6 separate regions of the Homo sapiens genome follow, and all the other regions are linked to region 1. The links are contacts of gene promoters, found by promoter capture Hi-C in blood cells and fetal thymus (Javierre and others, 2016). All regions are on one chromosome and are shown on one strand. The core of a region is centred on a gene start or on the middle of the fragment in contact, and the rest is flanking DNA. Distances in the headings are between cores, read along the strand shown. Region 1 holds the start of SOCS6 (suppressor of cytokine signaling 6). Region 2 overlaps RTTN (rotatin). Region 3 has its middle 5.6 kb from the start of LINC01910. Region 4 overlaps RTTN (rotatin). Region 5 has its middle 14 kb from the start of LINC01910. Region 6 overlaps LINC01909 (long intergenic non-protein coding RNA 1909).

Region 1 (2,910 bases), core at 263-2,762:
ATCCTAGACCTTACCATATCCACGCGTGCACAAAACCCACTAGGAGGAGAAATTAGAAAGCCCACGGAAAAGTATTACAGACTTTTTTTCCGGTTTTTGTGAAACCTGGTGAGCAATGCCATTCGTGTTTTTAAGTAAGGCTGTCCACAGCATTAAATATTACAATTAAGATTCGTTCATTCAAGTAAGCTAAATGGATTTAATGTTGTGGTAGTTGGTTAAAAACAAGTCAAGATAAATTGCTACCTTCAGTGGTTGAGAAGATGTCAGATATTTTATCTTGAAGTAGAACGTTTACTTTTGTTTGATTCCAAATGTATCTTTATCCCAAGGAACACAGTAAATTTAAAATGTCTCTGGGAGACGTTCAGTGTGTAATTCACGTTATTTCTGTCATTACTGTGTTCTCTGTCCTCATGCACAGTGCATGCTGCCTTATCCGGGCAGACGTTGCAGAAACATTTGTTGAAATGAATTCAACATTATTTATTTTGCTACCGGAAGACTGAGTCCCGCCACATATTCCCACCTGGCCCTTCATTCCAAACAGTGGGGATGGGAACCCCAATTTCACATTCCAACTGAACGTTAAGTTGGCACACACACTACTGCACATATCCCAAGTTTTGTGCCAGGATCTGCCCCTGAGAAACGTCCATAATTCTGCTCCGTGAGCCACAAGGGTGTACCTGAAGTTGCCAACTCCCGAAGCAAACTGAAAATTCAGGCCCGTGTCGGTCCCAGGAGCGGTTTAAATTCCACAATCGTCCGGTCCCTACACCCGGGTGAGTGCGCAGCCGGCCGGCGGCACCTTCAGCCGCAGAGCAGCCCCGGCCTGCACCTCCACCAGCGCCGGCGCGACCTCGCGGTGGGGCGGGGGCGTCCCCGAGTCCCAGCGCCGCGCCCCAGGCCCGCCCTCGCGCCTGCGGCCTCGCCGCGCCCCGACCCCGAGCCCGAGCCCGAGCCCGCGGAGGTCCGAGGAGGGACCCGGCCGGGGCGCAGAGCCGCGCAGGCCCCGCGCCGCTGCCCAGGCCTCGCGGAGCCCCGGCCTCTCCCCGGCGAGCTGCGGGCAACAAAGGCGGCGGCCCAGGCCGGCGCGCCGCGGCCGAAGAGGCCGAGGGGTCGAGAAGAGCCGTCCGCGGCCGCGCAGGCCTCGGCCCTTCAGGGGCCGCCGCGCCCCGGCCCCGGCTTCCCGGTTTCCGCGTCCCCGCTCCCGGGACTGGCCCCGGCCCCCGTTCCCCGGCCCTGGCCCCCGCCCGCGCACCCGCCGAGACGGCGCAGGGCCTCGCGCTGACCCAGACCCGTCGCTGCAGCCCCGCGCCCGGCGGCCTCCCTGGCCCGGCCCGCGCCGGATCCGCCCCCTGCACTCCGAGGCGAAAACCAGCCGTGTCCCGGACCGCGGGCGACCCGGAGGCGGACGGCGAAGCCCTGCCCCTGCCTCCCGCCCGAGCTCCCCGGACGCTTACCCGGAGGCGGCCCGGCTCCGCTTCCTCGCCCAGCGCCGGCGCGACTGCCGCGCTCGCCTTCTCCTCTCGGCAACTCCTCCTCCCGCCTCCTTCCTCCTCCTCCTCCAGGAGGGGCGCGCGGCCGCGGCGCCTCGGCCCGAGCGGGGAGCGGGTGCGGAGGAGCCGAGCGGGCCGCCCCCCGTCCACTACTCGGGCCCGCGGCGCAGGCGGGGCGTCGGGGCGCGCGGGGCTGAGGCCGGGGGCCGCGCGGGGCGGGGCGGGGGCCGGGCACTAAGTGGGGGTTCCGAGGGGAGGGGCGCCGGGCCGGGGTCGTGGGGCGGACGGAGCGCGGAGCCCTGATCCCTTCCCCCACCCCCGCGCCCCTCCGCTGGTGCCTGCAGGAGGCCGCTCCTCCGGCCCCCAGAGTCCCTGTCCTGGTTTTTCCTTTGGTGCTTTCCCTCTGGCGGGGGTGGCCCCGGCTAACGCGGAAAGGAAAGTCTCCTCGTTCCCCGGCCCCGCGGATTTGGCGGCTGCGGTCCCTGTCCCCCTGTGGCGGGCGGTCGGACCCCCGCACTGCCCAGGTCCGCTGGGCTCGCGCGGGGACCCCGGCCTCGTCCCCGCAGGGAGGGGACCCCAGGACAGACGCGCGCGCACGCTGTGCAGAGCCACAAGTGGGGAAACCCTCCCCACACCTCGACTAAATTGTGAAAAATGCTTTTTAAAAAACCAAACATTCCTTGTTTCAAGCCATCCACTTTTCCATTTAGTCGTTTTCAGGGAGGTTTTGTACAAGGAATAGTTGTTTGTGCCGCCGAATTCCAAGGTAGTGTGGTATACAAGTTGCATGTTGGGATCTTGACTAATTTCTTTGGAAACTGGCTGAACATACTACTAATGTATAGCAGTACCACAAAAACTTGATTTTTGTGCATAAGAATCAATAGGAAAATTTGTATTTCTCTTACGATGAAAAGTGGTTAAAAAAATGAATATCATTAGTATTTCAGTAAAGCTTGGGGGGAGATAAATATTAAAATCTAATGAGAATTATTGTGGACTTTAAAAGTTGTGTTTCTTGAATAGTATGGACCTTTTTAAAAGAAAACCGAAAGGACAGAGAAAAAAGGGCTAGAAAAAAAGTCTAAAAAGCTGTTCAGGTATGAGTTGGTACCCGAATTATATCTCAATAAAGTTGTTAGTTACAAAAAAGTTCAAGTCCAGTAATCTTAATTCCTATGTCCAATATACAATCTGGATTTCCCCAAGAAATCTAGATTCATAACAGAAAAGTTGGATCTTTAGGTGATGCAAAGTTGATGTCATGTATCATACACTATCATTGTCATCTTCAGTTTTTACTTGAATTTATTAATAAAATACTACCATTATTGTTACCGTGATTGAAATGCAACACAATTCTCAAATATCTAATTACAGTGATTGGAGAATGTAGGTTGAAATAGAA
Region 2 (2,910 bases), core at 173-2,672, 110 kb after region 1:
AACTGAATAGGTTAGAATTAGTCCCTGGCCTCATGGAACTTAGTTTTGTAAAAGACAAGACTTGGCTGTTATCTATACATATACATATACATATACATATACATATACATATACATATACATATACATATACATCTACATCTACATCTACGTATACATATACATATACATGTATATGTTTGACTTCTTTGGTTTCTTTAATAACTTTGGGATCACTTGAGGGAAGAGATTATGTCTTAATATACGAATACATTTTTCCATACATATATACATATATAATTGGTACACTTGTATCTTTTAATTGATTGGAGGGCATTGAAAGCCTACTGATCTTATCTCTGCAGTGTGTGTCTTGGTTCTTATCATTAATATCAAGAGTAGCCTTTCCTTCTCTTCAGCTAGGTACGTGTTGTCAGAGTTCTTTACTTATTCACTATTTCCCAGGTTCCTTGACACACAGAATACAAACAATAGTTTCCATTGCTGCTCCAGAAATTATTTTATAGTTAGCATATCTTAATGTCATGGAACCTTTTCTTTTTCTTGTTTTATCTATTCAAAATACTGTTAGCAGTGCTTTAGTTTCTAAGTATTGGTCAAGTTGGTTTCTGAGGACTGTCCTATTTCTTGTATTTGTTGTACTTTATGTATATTGCTGGTGTGTTGCATATTTTAGTAACTTAAGGGATTTTTTTTTTTTTTGGTCCCATGCATTTCTCTTGAAGGTATCCCACTATTTCCTTTCTGTCAGCAACTTAATTGCTTAATATTTTTATTTTAGCACCTGATCAAAAGAATTTCAGAAGTCATCTTTGGTAGGATTAAATATCCTGATTTTTATTTGATTCATCTAGTTAATATTTGGTAACTTGTTTTATGTCTAAACCATATTTGTAGTTTGAGTTACGTAATATATGATTTCATACCTTAGTATGTCTTTTGAAAGTTGTTTTTTTAATTAACGTGTTGCTTTAGGTGTCTTTCACAAAGCTGCTTTTCTGCCCATGATAGCAATAAACTATCTTCTGTGCTAGTCTTTATTCTAGTACTTTTCTTTTTCCTACTTTTCTATTTTACCTAGACCTTTCTTTTCTTAAGCTTTGGTGTTTTCAGTTTTTAACTTTTATTCAGAAAATAAAATGTTCATTTAAAAAACATTTTGATGTACAAAGAAGAATAAAAATTCATTTATAATTTCAAGTTAGTTTTGAGGCTTTTTTCTTTTCTGCTTTAAGTCCAATTGACAGCGTCTATAAAAGTTATTTATTCTTTTTTTTTTTTTTTTTTTTTGGTTTTGGTTTTGTTTTTGAGACGGAGTCTCACTCTGTCACCCAGGCTGGAGTGCAGTGGCACTTTCTTGGCTCACTGCAGCCTCCACCTCCCAGGTTCAAGTGATTCTCCTTCCTCAGCCTCCCAAGTAGCTGGGATTATAGGTGTGAGCCACCACACCCAGCTAATTTTCGTATTTTTTTTTTTTAGTAGAGACCAGATTTCGCCATGTTTGCCAGGCTGATCTTGAACTCCTGACCTCAGGTGATGTGCCCGCCTCGGCCTCCCAAAGTGCTGGGAGTACTCGCGTGAGCCACTGCACCTGGCCTGTTTATTCTCTTTTTTTTTTTTTTAACCATTTCTTATTATCTAACATACATTTTCCATTTAATTAAACACTTCATAAATTTTAATGGGTACTAATATTTTACCAGCAAGATGTTCTATGATTTCCACAAGTATTCCAGAAATTAAGCTTTTAGGTTTCTTTTTTTCTTTTTTTGGTATTTTGATAAATAACACTATGCTGAATTGCTACTTACGCATGTTTACTCATATTTTGGATTCTTAAATTCCTAGTGGCATTACTAGTTCAAAGGCTGAATGCTTAAACATGTTTTTATTATAAGCATAATTTAAAAATATTATAGTTTCACGAGTTTCATTGTTTTTAACTAAAGAATGGATAAAAAGAGTAGTACACGGAAAAGATAATTGTGAGAATATATGGCCGGGAAATTACTAAAAAGAAGCACTTTTTGAAAGTGCCTAAGGCTGGTGTCTCTTCTGTGTGTTTGCCAATTACAGTTTCTGAAATTGTGCACTGTTAGTTTAACTAGAACACTTAAATTTTTAAATGATTTTTAAAATGCTATCAGAAAAAAACATTAATTCTGTAAAGGCTTTTTTTTTTTTTTTTAAACTTTCATATACATTCAGAAAAGTACATAGTTCAGTGCTTTTTCTACTAAGTGAATGCATCTGTCTTTAAAAAGTGACCACCCCCATAACAGAAAATAGAATGTTACCAGCATTCCAAAGACCCCTTCTCTGTTACCTCTCCCTCCTTCTCCAAGCCACACTCCTTTCTGACTTCTGTCACTATAGATCAATTGGCCTGTTTTGAATGTTGTTTAAATGAAATTATAAAGTATGTACTCTCTCAACTCCTTCTTGAGGTTCATAACTATTGTTGCCTATAGCATTAATTTGTTAACTTTTATTACAAAATATTCCATTGTATGAAGTCTGTTAAAAGTGATTTTAATATGTGTAAATATTTCTTTAAAATCTTCTTACTGACTGTATTTTTAAACGTGAGGTTATCTCTGAATTTGAATGTTAGTGGTAAAAATATCTCAGATCATTCAGACATCAGTGTTTCGTGGTGTACTTATTACCAAAACAAAGGAGTGACACACTAAAATGCAGGTATGGGAGAAATTATGAAAACTAGAAAACTATTCCTTATGCCTCTTTGTTGCCCTTAGTTATTAAACATTTGCAGCTTTGTTTCCTAGAATTCTGTAGAGCATATAGTCCAAACTCTATTTTCTTTTTTTTTTTTTTTTTTTTGAGTTGGAGTCTTGCTCTGTCACCAGGCTGGAGTTCAGTGGCGTGATCTCCGCTCACTGCAACCTCC
Region 3 (2,910 bases), core at 178-2,677, 100 kb before region 1:
GCCTGTAATCCCAGCACTTTGGGGGGCCGAGGCGGGCGGATCACGAGGTCAGGAGATGGAGACCACCCTGGCTAGAACATGAAACCCCGTCTCTACTAGAAAAAAAAAATGGAAAAAATTAGCCGGGCGTGGTGGCGGGCGCCTGTAGTCCCAGCTACTCGGGAGGCTGAGGCAGGAGAATGGCGTGAACCCGGGAGGCAGAGCTTGCAGTGAGCCGAGATGCGCCACTGCACTCCAGCCTGGGTGACAGAGCAAGACTCCGTCTCAAAAAAAAAAAAAAAAAAGAAGAAGAAAGAATTTTAAAGTAATACTGTGTGCTAAAGTACAGAGAGAGCAATATTCTAACGTGCAGGTGCGTGCAAAAACAATGCAGAATATTGGGCTAGTGCTAAAGAGAGACAGAGAAGTGACTGTAGCAGTGTCTGACAGACCTCTTACCTTATTATTATAAATACATAACAATATTTTTCCAATAAATCACAAAAATGGCTGGGCCAGCTGCAGTGACTTACGCCTATAATCCGAGCATTTTGGAAGGCCAAGGCAGGAGGACTGCTTGAGGCAGGATTTTGAGACTGGCCTGGGCAACATAGTGAGACCCTGTCTCTACAAAAAAAAAAAAAAAAAAAAAAAAAAAGGGTATAAAGTGCCAAGATACAATTCACGGAAAAAAAATTTTAACCATTAGATTCATTTTTTTCTAAAAGCAAAACCTCTGATAAATACTTGACATGCCTTAAGAAATACCGTGAAGATAATTCATCAATTAAATGTTTGAAAACATAGTAAAGCCATCATCAATCTGGAATTAATTCTGAGTGACTCAGAACTAGTTGGGACTATGAACATGGTGGAATACTAAGATGAATGTGAAAATGTCATATCAGAATATCACAGTTTAAACTAGAGCTACTTAAGTCTTTATGTCTCCCTAGACCATATCAGCATGGACATTCATGGAGGCACAGGAATAATAAAATTCAGCTGTCCCCACCTCTGTCTCCTGCCCTTGACATTACTAGGATTACTAGGTTCTTTCTTTTTTCAAGCTGTTCCATGGGTTGATTCACTTGTCACCCAAACATCCATGACTTCATTTCATGTTTGGTGGTTAAATGTGTTGTTAAACATTTGCCGATAATTTTTAGCTGTCCAAACTCTAGAATTACATGTGCAACATTTGGCTCTGAAACTCCTGCTTGGCAACCTTAAATCACCACCAAAAACAAGTCAGCCAGTTCACATATTATGGCTTCTGGGCAACGAAAAGATAGACAGGTAGAATCTGGAGGATGTCCAGCCTAGGACGTCTTAATTTCAAAAAGGTATTTAACATGGTAATGCATTAAGGTGCACTTAAAGCCACATGGACAAATCCACCCAGTTAGTGTTAATCAGCCAGAGAAGTGAGCCAGAATTCTGTACTCAAGCCCATCCTGCTCAGAATTTCAGTTAATGACTTAGATGAAGATTTACAGGATGATTATGTCAAATTTGCAAAGGAAGCAAAAATCAAGGCCTGGCGCAGTGGTTCACGCCTGTAATCCTAGCACTTTGAGACCAAGGCGGGTGGATTACCTGAGGTCAAGATTTCGAGACCAGCCTGACCAACATAGTGAAACCCCATCTCTACTAAAAATACAAAATTAGCTGGGTGTGGTGGCACATACTTTTAATTCCAGCTACTTGGGAGGCTGAGGCAGGAGAATCTCTTGAACCCAAGAGGCAGAGGTTGCAAGGCTGAAGTGAGCCGAGATCGCACCATTGCAGTCCAGCCTAGGCAACATGAGTGAAACTCAATCTCAAAAAAAAAAAAAAAAAAAAAAGGCCAGGCGCGGTGGGTCACACCTGCAATCCCAGCACTTCGGGAGGCTGAGACAGGCAGATCACATGAGGTCAGGAGTTCAAGACCAGCCTGGCCAACATGGTAAAACCCTGTCTCTATTAAAAATACAAAAATTAGCCAGGCATGATGGTGGGTGCCTATAATCCCAGCTACTCAGGAGGCTAAGGCGGGAGAATCGCTTGAACCTAGGAGATGGAGCTTGCAGTGAGCCGAGATCATGCCATTGCACTCCAGCCTGGGTGACAGAGCAAGACTCCATCTCAAAAAAAAAAAAAAAAAGAGAGAGAAGTATAGAGGAAGGCACCCGAACCAACTGTACCTGGAGAGAAGAAACTGAGGGACAAAAACTAGCAATAGAAATGCATTATTATTAATATTTAGCAGCAATAGTAGTGATAAGAATAGTAAATATTAGTGATTAAAATAGGAATAAAGGTAAAGTAGAAAATTTAAGGTAAAAATATTCAATTGCATAAAGACAAAACTTGAAGAAAACTAAAAACTTACATTTTTTTAATGTAGGTTTAAAATTAACTACATATTACTCAGGAATGGAAAACCCCATAGTGTGTCCTCACTGATATGTGGGAGCTAAGCTATGAGGACAAAAAGGCATAAGAAAGATACAATGGGCCGGGCACGGTGGCTCATGCCAGTAATCCCAGCACTTTGGGAGGCCAAGGTGGGTGGATCACCTGAGGTCGGGAGTTCGAGACCAACATGACCAACATGGAGAAACCCCATCTCTACTAAAAATACAAAATTAGCTGGGCGTGGGTGGCACATGCCTGTAATCCCAGCTACTAGGGAGGCTGAGGCAGGAGAATCACTTGAACTCGGGAGGTGGAGGTTGCGGTGAGCCAAGATCGCGCCATTGCACTCCAGCCTGGGCAACAAGAGTGAAATTCTGTCTCAAAAAAAAAAAAATGATACAATGGACTTGGGGGACTTGGCGGGAAGAGTGGGAGGGAGGCAAGGGATAAAAGACAACACATACGATGCAGTATACACTGCTCAGGTGATGGGTGCACCAGGATCTCACAAATCACCACTAAAGAATTTAC
Region 4 (2,910 bases), core at 172-2,671, 98 kb after region 1:
ACCCAATAAATTGTTTTTACCAGCTGCAAACGGAATATGATCAAGTTTAAAAGAATAGCTTTAAATGATAGATACATTGTTGATAGTATTTTACACATATTTTTGTAAGTCTTATAACAAATGGATAAGTGTTTACTGTTAAAAGGAATGGTTGGAGAATTTTATAAAATAAGGACTCCTTCAAGGTGAACAATTTATGGTATTTGTTTGTGTAAATACAGATTTTTTTCTTTTTTTTTTTTTTTTTTTTGAGACAAGGTCTCACTCTCTTGCCTAGGCTGGAGTGCAGTGGCACGATTATAGCCTTGACTTCTGGGCTCAAGTGATCCTTTCGCCTCAGCCTCCTGAGTGGCTGGGACCACAGATGTGCACTACCATACTTGGCTAAGCCTTTTATTTTTTGTAGAGATGGGGTCTCACTATGTTTCCCAGGCTGGTCTCGAACTCCTGGGCTCAAGTGATCTTCCCATCTTGGCCTCGTAAAGTGCTGAGATTACAGACATGAGTCACCATGCTTGGCCCCCAGTGCTTGGCACCCAGATTTTCATACACCAACTCTGCTTAAAAGGATTGGTGTGGTATTTGTATGTTACCTTATCCTTGGGTGCAAATGTGTTAGAAACATATTAGTCTCTTTAGTGTCATTCTAAAAAATGTTCACTAAGTTAAGCATTGGTCTGTTGGCTTAATTATTTTCTTGCAATACTGCTACTACTGTTAACAAGCTAATACTGATTCATACCTGCTGTGTGTATGGTGTTATGCCCTGTGCTTTGCATACTTTGTCTCCTTTAGTTGTCCTAGAATAGGATTGATATTATATATAGCATTAGTATTATTATTATCATCCTCATTGAGGTTTAGAGAGGTTAAGAGCATAACAGTTGGTAAAGAGCAGAGCTAGGGTTAAATAAAATGATAGGAGAGTCTATGCTCTTAGTCCTTATATTGTAGTTGGTTGTTCAGCCATGTTTTTCTCTTTCTCCTGAAGCCTTTCTGCCTCATTCTCTTGTGTGCTTCATGCTTCTAAGTTTTCACTCCTGAGTGAACAGCTTCCTCACTGAAACTTCCTTTCAGAGTTACAGAGAAGCCCGAGTTGTTTCCATATTTTGGGGTGCTTGGTATCTTGAAATTGAAGAAACGACAAAGTTGGTTTATAATTTGGGCAAATTTAAATGTTCCATAGCATTAATATGTCTCTTGTGATCCAGCTTCGGTTGTGGATAACATCAAAAGACAAAATTTTGAGGCTCTTTGTAAGTGTGAGGCTCTAGCCTTTCTACACTTTTTAAATCCTTACTCCAGCACTTTACATCCGAGGTAAGAACTTTTTAATGAAGAAAGCCAAGGACAATGGGATGTTCCGTTTTTTTGGGTGCATTTTTGAAGTCACTACATGATGTCGAATGTACTAAGTGAAGTAATACATTTCCCATGAGGTTTTTCTAGAAACATCCTTCATTTACTAACACTGGCTTACTCAGAACAGTGGTGAAACTCAGAAAATCTAGGAAACGGTATGAACTATTGGTTTTGTCTCTACACGTTGATTACAGAAGAGCTTTCCTATAAATCTGCTTATTTCCTTTTGGAAATGAATGGGTTATCAGTGCTAATATTGATTCCTACTATAGGAATGTTGACATGTTTTGAGATATCAGCCTGACAAGCAAAATATAGATGCATTTTTGGCTTCATTTACAATTTAGAGTCTTTTTTTTTTTTTGAGATGGAGTCTTGCTCTGTCGCCCAGGCTGGAGTGCAGTGTCGCTATCTCAGCTCACTGCAACGTCTACCTCCTGGGCTCAGAAGATTCTCCCGCCTCAGCCTCCCCAGTAGCTGGGATTACAGGTGTGTGCCACCATGCCCAGCGAATTTTTTTTTTTGTATTTTTAGTAGAGGTGGGATTTCACCATGTTGGCCAGGCTGGTCTTGAACTCCTGACCTCAGGTGATCTGCCCGCCTTGGCCTCCCAAAGTGCTGGGATGACAGGCATGAGCCACCACTCCTGGCCTTGAGTCATCTTTATGGAATTTAATTTCGTAAATTTGTCAAAGTTTCTACAAATCTGACCAGAGTTGAATGAAGCAGTAGAGTTGTGACTTGTATGAGGCTTCTAATATGCGAGGCAGCAGATATGCAGTAAATCTGTTTGGGGATTGTTTCTGTATGCAAGGTTTATCATTTGTTTATCTTGCAGTGGAAGTAGTAGTCATGCTCATGTAAACTCCAGGATATCCGTTCATTCACCTTTGGATATGGGACACATAGATCTGCCAGAGCTGGAAACTGAAGACACATTGGAACTACAATTCCAGCAGCTCAGTCTTCCCCAGTTTTGTGTCTCCATTCTGGAATCAGCTGTTCCTCTCTTAAGAACAGGTTAGTTGTTTTAGAAATCGTAATTCTGATATAATTTGTGTCTGTTTTGTATTTCGTTAGGATTTTCCTTTTTTTCTCTTCTATGTTAGGGCCTTTGGAATCTGTATTTACTTATCTTTTGGGATATAAATTTCTAAAAACCTAATAAGGTCTTTATTATTTTTAAATTAAATGTGGATGCCTTGGAGGGCTATTCAGCTTGCCCTTCCATTTTATGAGTTTTTATTGGCACAGGCTTTCATGCTTATTTTTTTTTTAGAATTTTTATCTATTTTTTGCATTTATTCTTGCTGTCATCTATTTTTTTCTTTTTTTTTTGGACTGTATGGCTATTTTAAATTTGAGCAGTGACAACATTCAGCAACTGGAATAAGGTATAAAAGGTGGACTGGCATGAATAGACCAGAATAAAAAAATCTTTGGCTTTTGCTCTTTGGAAACTTTTTGATTAGCTGTCAGTTGTTTACTCTTCCCATTCATTTCTTGCTACTTAAGCCACTTAACATGTTAAAAACAAAACTCCAAAAC
Region 5 (2,910 bases), core at 125-2,624, 82 kb before region 1:
TCAGGAGGCTGCCTGATTCACCAATTGTTCTTTGCTCAATTAAACTCTGTTAAATTTAATTTGGCTGAAGCTTTTCTTTTCTTTTCTTTTTTGAGACAGAGTTTCAACTCTTGTTGCCCAGGCTGGAGTGCAATGTCACGATCTCAGCTCACCGCAACCTCCGCCTCCAAGGTTCAAGCAATTCTCCTGCCTCAGCCTCCCGAGTAGCTGGGATTACAGGCATGTGCCATGACGCTCAGCTAATTTTTTGTATTTTTAGTAGAGACGGGGTTTCTCCATGTTGGTCAGGCTGGTCTTGAACTCCCGACCTCAAGTGATCCACCCGTCTTGGCCTCCCAAAATGCTGGGATTACAGGCGTGAGCCACCGCACCTGGCTGAAGCTTTTCTTTTAACATCCTCCATCTCCCCTACTTCTGGGCTACCTTGTTCACCTGCCTCCACATCCAGACGTCATTCAGAAGTGATGACTCACTCTCTCTTTGATCATCTGAACTCCTGTAGCAATTTATCTCTTAGAGTACTTCTTACTTTCAGTCTGGTATAACCTACTCCTATCCTCCAGCCCTGGAGGTACCTCCAGGTGTTTCTAGGTGTTCTCAAAAAAGGAACCACTTGTACTTACAATGGAGCCTACTGTCAGCAGCTCCCTCAGGCAAGGCACCCCCTCCCCACCTAAAGCAGGACTCTTCTTGGCTCAGGGTTCCTTGCTCTGTCCCCAGGCGGCTGCATCAAAGTGGCCAGAAGAAGCACTTCCCCTTTGATCCATTCATCCAGGGGCTAACCCTGTACCACTTGCTACTCTGGCCCTGGGGATACATTTGTGATCACAACCAGAAGAAAATTCCTACCTGAAGAGCTTTCATTTAGTAAAGAGTCAGGTAATAAATATAAGAATAAAGAAAATACGTAGTATGTTAAAAGACGTAAGTGCTATGAAGAGTAGTAAACCAGGGTAAGAGGATGGAAATGCCTTTGGGGGTAGGAGGAGTTGCAATTTTAAGTCAGTGGTCAGGGTGGACCTCTCTGAGATATTTAAGCAGGAGTGGCAGGAAGTGAGAGAGCTGGCCAAGTGGATATGCTCCAGGGAAAGGGAAGAGCTGATGCCAAGCCCTGCAAGGGAGCCCCTGGGTGTGGTGGAGGCCGGGGACATAGGGACAGTGGAGAACAGTATGGCCATGTGCACCCTGGAAGAACTGCTGCTCCAAGTTAACTAGGTAGTCATTGTAGGGTTTCAAGGACAGGAGTAACAGGACCTAAGTTTTAAAAGGAATCCCAGCACTTTGGGAGGCTGAGGAGGGTGGATCAGTTGAGGTCAGGAGTTCGAGACCAGCCCGGCCAACATGGTAAAACCCTGTTTCTACTTAAAATACAAAAAGTAGCTAGGTGTGGTGGCGGGTGCCTGTAATCCCATCTACTCGGGAGACTGAGGCAGAATTGCTTCAACCTGGGAGGCGGAGGTTGCAGTGAGCCCAGATCGCGCCACTGCACTCCAGCCTGGGTGACAGAGTGAGACACTGTCTCCAAAATAAATAATAAATAAATTAAATAAATAGGATGACTTTCCAGGCAGGAGTGCAATACCACTTGCACTGTGTGCTCAAGAATGTGAAATAAGACCCATCAACTGGTTGCAGGTTTTTCTCCAGCCATGGCCAGCTGTAAATGTGTAGGTAGAAGTAAGTGGAGGTTTGGATTTGCTAAGATGGAACAAAGAAGGGAGAGCAGTAAGGAGTCTGAGGGTGTAAGATCCTGCAGAGCACTCAGAGAATATTTTTTGGACCCCAGTGTGGGCTGTTAGGGCAACAATTCTTCCCACTTCTATTTTGATTCCTTTTTCCCCCTAGATCCAGACAAGTACTTTGACCCAGAGATGAAGTCTATCAAATTTCCAAGTGGTACTCAGAATCTCAATCTTCCTCTAATGATTACATTTTGTTGCAGATAAATATGTTCACTTTGCTGCACATGTTTAATTTTCCCTACAAGACTGCAAGTTTTGAAGGGAAGAAGCGCTAATTCTTATTCATCTGTTTCCTCTCAGCAGAGGGTCTCTCTGCACTGGAATCACTTGGCAGCTTTTACAAATCATGATGTCTGGGTCCACCCCTAGAGAATTGGCCTTGAGTGCAGCCTGGGGTACTGGGCTCTTAAGAAACCTCAGATAATTCTGATGGGCACCAAGGATGGAAGCCTCGAGACTATATTATAAAGCAATGTCTCACATATAGAAGGTACTTAATAAATAATTGTTGGGAAATATTAATGAATGGGCCTGGGAAACAGCTTCTCAGCTAGCCTCCTGAACTCAGGTATATTTTTCTCCAGTAAGTCATCTTAGACGCTCCCTTCTGCAAAACGAAGCTTCCTGGAATTCACATTAAAACTTCTGCCTCAAAAACATCCTGCATTTCTTTATCATCTGCAATAGTGGCTCCCACACTTTGGTCCACAGGCTGGACCATCTCAAGAACTTTAAAATATGGCAGGTTCTAGGGCTTCAAACCTCATGGAGTTTCTGATGTAGTCACTGAGAAGCCCAGAAGTCTGCATTCCTATCGGGCTCCCTTCAGGATCCTCATATATACTACGAGGGTGAGAATGCTCGATCTACAAGATAAAACCCAATCTCCTTCCCCGGTTGTCAGATTTCTCCACCATACATTCCTATCCGATTTACAATCCTTTATTTTTGTATAATTCCAACCCAAATCTTCTGCCACAGGAAAGGAAATTAACCCAATGTTCATTATGGTGCCTTTACTTCCTAATTTTGTTCATGTTGTGCCTTCACCTCAGCTGACTCTTCATCCCTCTATGCCTGTCTCAAACTCATTCATTTTCCTGGACCTGATTCAAATCCTACTACTTCCTCCACAAGGCCATCCAGTTCATTACAGCCCAGTGATGTA
Region 6 (2,910 bases), core at 181-2,680, 65 kb before region 1:
TTGGTCAATTCCTGAGATAGTCATTGTGCTCTGTTTCACGAGGAGCAAAGTTTTTATGCTTTATAGCAGATCAAAGACTCTGCCCTTTTCCTCTAACTTTCCTGCTCAGCCAATTATTTTCCACTTTCTGTCATTTAGTGGTAAGCACACGCTGAGCAAGAACTTCCATATAGAAGCAGGCCTAGCTGCACTAAATATACTGGATGTACTGGCTTCTCTACCTACATCTTAAGGGGTAGAAAAGTTAACCACCTGTGTTCATATGGCTAGTTGTCATAATAAATGTAAAGAGAATGTCCCTCCCCATTTCTATTCTGGAAAATGGCAATTTATTTTATACCTAGCTCAACATCATTAAAACAGAGGCAATCATTTTATTAGGAACCTTGAAATAGTTGTCTTAAGCCCTTATCAGCACATGTGATAGGCCTGGACAGCTTACGGAATTAGGGCAACTAAGGAAAACTGAAGGTGTCTAACTGCTACTTAAAATACATGTTAATGTTTCTCATAATGCAGGTCTGAGGATAAATAAGTTTTCTCACCTTTTGTTTAACTATTTTACCCTCTTTTGGAAAGTTATTTTTAATGGAAATAGAATTCTGGGTTGACTTTTTCTCTTTAAGCTCATTAAAGATAGTCCGTTGTCAGCTGGGCACGGTGGCTCACGCCTGTAACCCCAGGACTTTGGGAGGCTGAGGTGGGAGGATCACCTGAAGTCAGGAGTTTGAGACCAGCCTGGCCAACATGGCAAAACCCTGTCTCTACTAAAAATACAAAAATTAGCCAGGCCTGGTGGCGCCCACCTGTAATTCCAGCTACTCGGGAGGCCGAGGCTGGAGAAGCTCTTAAACTGGGGAGGTGGAGGTTGCAGTGAGCCGATGTTGTGCCATTGCATTCCAGCCTGGACGACAAGAGTGAGACTCCATCACAAAAAAAAAAAAAAAAAAAAAAAAAAGTCCATTGTCTTTTGGACTCTATTGTTTCTGATGAGAAGTTAGCTGTCATTGTATTGTTGTTCCTCTGGAAATTATGTGTCATCCTCTCATTCCCAGAAGCTTATAAGGTTTTTCTCTTTAAATAGTCTGATTATGATGTCCCTAGGTATAGTTCTCTGCATTTATCCTGCTTGGGGTTTGTTGGCTGTCTGGGATTTGTAAATTATTATTTCACCAATTTTAGGTAATTTTTTATCTTTTTTCAAATATTTTATCCTTTTCTTGCTCTCCTCTTCCTGTAGGACTCCTATTTGAGTTTTGTTAGACTGTTTGATAACTTCCTAAGTATTACTGAGGCTCCTAATTTTTTCCAACCATTTCTTCTGTAGGTCTTCAGAATATAATTTCTATTGATCTACCTTCAAGTTGACCAACTCTGACAGTTTCAGTCTCCAATTTGCTGTTAAACCTATGCAATCAAGTTTTAAATTTCAGATAGAGTATTTTTTGGTTGTAGAGTTTCCACTTGATTCTTTTTGGGAGTTTCCATTTCTCAGCTGAGATTTCCCATCTGGGCACACTTCTATTGTCTTCTTTTTTCCTACAGTCTGGCCTGGGGTCCCTTGTTCCAGCTTTTTAGCATTACTGATAATTTTTTACTAGATGCTGAACATTGTGGATGAAAAATTTTAGAAGCTCTGAACTATTATTACCTTCCTTCAAAGAGGGTTAAGTTTTCTTGTTGAAGGAAGGCTAGGTAACGGATTCCTTTGAAACTTGGTTGTAGGCATTGTTAAGTCTGGCCTATTTAAGTTTTCCTTACTCTTCTGGCACAGCCACCCTGAGGTCTTGATTTAAAGCTTAAGTGCTTACCAACCCCACTCTACTTGAACTCCAGCAACTGTCTCCCCAGCATTTCATAGCTGCTAATGTCTCTGTTTGGCTCTTCAGCCTCCCTGCTGTTGTTTTCTTCTAAGATTCTTTTTTTAGGCTTTTTTTCTTTCTAAGGTTCTTGAAGTTTTACTCTTTGCATGAATATTTTAAGGGTCCAACAATGGCCAGGCGCGGTGGCTCACGCCTATAATCCCAGCACTTTGGGAGGCTGAGGCGGGCAGATTGAGGTCAGGAGATTGAGACCATCCTGGCTAACACGGTGAAACCCCGTCTCTACTAAAAATACCAAATATTAGTCGGGCGTGGTGTTGGGCGCCTGTAGTCTCAGCTACTCGGGAGGCTGAGGCAGGAGAATTGCTTGAACCCAGGAGGCGGAGGTTGCAGTGAGCCGAGATCTCGCCACTGCACTCCAGCCTGGGCGATGGGAGCAAGACTCTGTCTCAAAAAAAAAAAAAAAAAGAGTCCAACAATGGCTTGAGGGAAATTGTATGAAATTCCTTGTTTTTTGTTATTTTTTGTTGTTGTTGTTTGTTTGTGATTCCTCACTTTCTAAGGTTTTGTCCCTCAAGTTCAAGATACTTTGATAGCTCTACACACTGGCTGTTGTCCCTTTACTTGCTAAGACTGCCACTTTCAGCTTCAAGTCTTTTCATGCATGCTGCAGTTTGGAAAATGTGCTCGGGGAAAAACCAGGGTAATCGTGGAGCTTCCTCCCTGGGTTTTCTGTCTGGAGCACTGTAACCCATCAAGTCCCGCCTGCCTAAGTTGGCTGCTCCCCAGTGTTTTCTTTATGTTTCAGATGTAGTGTTTTAGGTGGGATGGTTAATCAGCTACAAGATGGCTTTTCACAGCCAGAAGTGGAAGTCATAATCTGACGTTTGATATGCCATGTTTATTTGTTTACATGTTTATTGTCTTTCCCTCTCTTCTCCTAGCACCCTCCATCAGAATGTCGACTCTGTGAGGACAGGCATTTTGTTCAATTAATATCTCCTCATAAAAGGCGCTCAATAAATATTTATTGTATTCAGTCATCAATCACTGAAATCCAGAACAAGGGGAAGTAAAACCTATTGAT

What was found. The method cuts DNA at HindIII sites, captures the fragments that hold promoters and counts their contacts. A CHiCAGO score of 5 or more calls a contact.
Region 2: a contact is called between a fragment that was not itself captured here and the fragment with the promoter of SOCS6 in region 1, in 2 of 17 cell types (M1 macrophages and M0 macrophages). The highest score is 5.9, in M1 macrophages.
Region 3: a contact is called between a fragment that was not itself captured here and the fragment with the promoter of SOCS6 in region 1, in 4 of 17 cell types (M1 macrophages, M2 macrophages, M0 macrophages and 1 more). The highest score is 8.7, in M1 macrophages.
Region 4: a contact is called between a fragment that was not itself captured here and the fragment with the promoter of SOCS6 in region 1, in 3 of 17 cell types (M1 macrophages, M2 macrophages and M0 macrophages). The highest score is 7.9, in M1 macrophages.
Region 5: a fragment that was not itself captured here is called in contact with the fragment with the promoter of SOCS6 in region 1 in 3 of 17 cell types (M1 macrophages, M0 macrophages and M2 macrophages); the score reaches 11.4 in M1 macrophages.
Region 6: a fragment that was not itself captured here is called in contact with the fragment with the promoter of SOCS6 in region 1 in 2 of 17 cell types (M1 macrophages and M0 macrophages); the score reaches 5.8 in M1 macrophages.

The regions. Positions count from the first base shown.
Region 1 is chr18:70,287,647-70,290,556 of GRCh38, reverse strand. SOCS6 (suppressor of cytokine signaling 6) reads right to left here and starts at 1,512. Exons shown (of 2, transcript NM_004232.4): 1 at 1,467-1,512. RefSeq lists a silencer at 777-1,676. The HindIII fragment of the contact is 7,416 bases long and covers 1-2,459 here.
Region 2 is chr18:70,173,425-70,176,334 of GRCh38, reverse strand. The region is part of intron 11 of RTTN (rotatin); the gene reads left to right. Among named protein-coding and RNA genes, the nearest start is that of RTTN, 31 kb to the left of the region's middle. The HindIII fragment of the contact is 646 bases long and covers 1,100-1,745 here.
Region 3 is chr18:70,388,758-70,391,667 of GRCh38, reverse strand. No RefSeq gene overlaps it. Among named protein-coding and RNA genes, the nearest start is that of LINC01910, 5.6 kb to the right of the region's middle. The HindIII fragment of the contact is 4,847 bases long and covers 1-2,910 here.
Region 4 is chr18:70,190,010-70,192,919 of GRCh38, reverse strand. It overlaps RTTN (rotatin), which reads left to right. Exons shown (of 49, transcript NM_173630.4): 9 at 2,201-2,382. Among named protein-coding and RNA genes, the nearest start is that of RTTN, 14 kb to the left of the region's middle. The HindIII fragment of the contact is 5,665 bases long and covers 1-2,910 here.
Region 5 is chr18:70,369,096-70,372,005 of GRCh38, reverse strand. No RefSeq gene overlaps it. Among named protein-coding and RNA genes, the nearest start is that of LINC01910, 14 kb to the left of the region's middle. The HindIII fragment of the contact is 1,981 bases long and covers 384-2,364 here.
Region 6 is chr18:70,352,384-70,355,293 of GRCh38, reverse strand. It overlaps LINC01909 (long intergenic non-protein coding RNA 1909), which reads right to left. Exons shown (of 4, transcript NR_126336.1): 4 at 2,835-2,910. Among named protein-coding and RNA genes, the nearest start is that of LIVAR, 16 kb to the right of the region's middle. The HindIII fragment of the contact is 740 bases long and covers 1,061-1,800 here.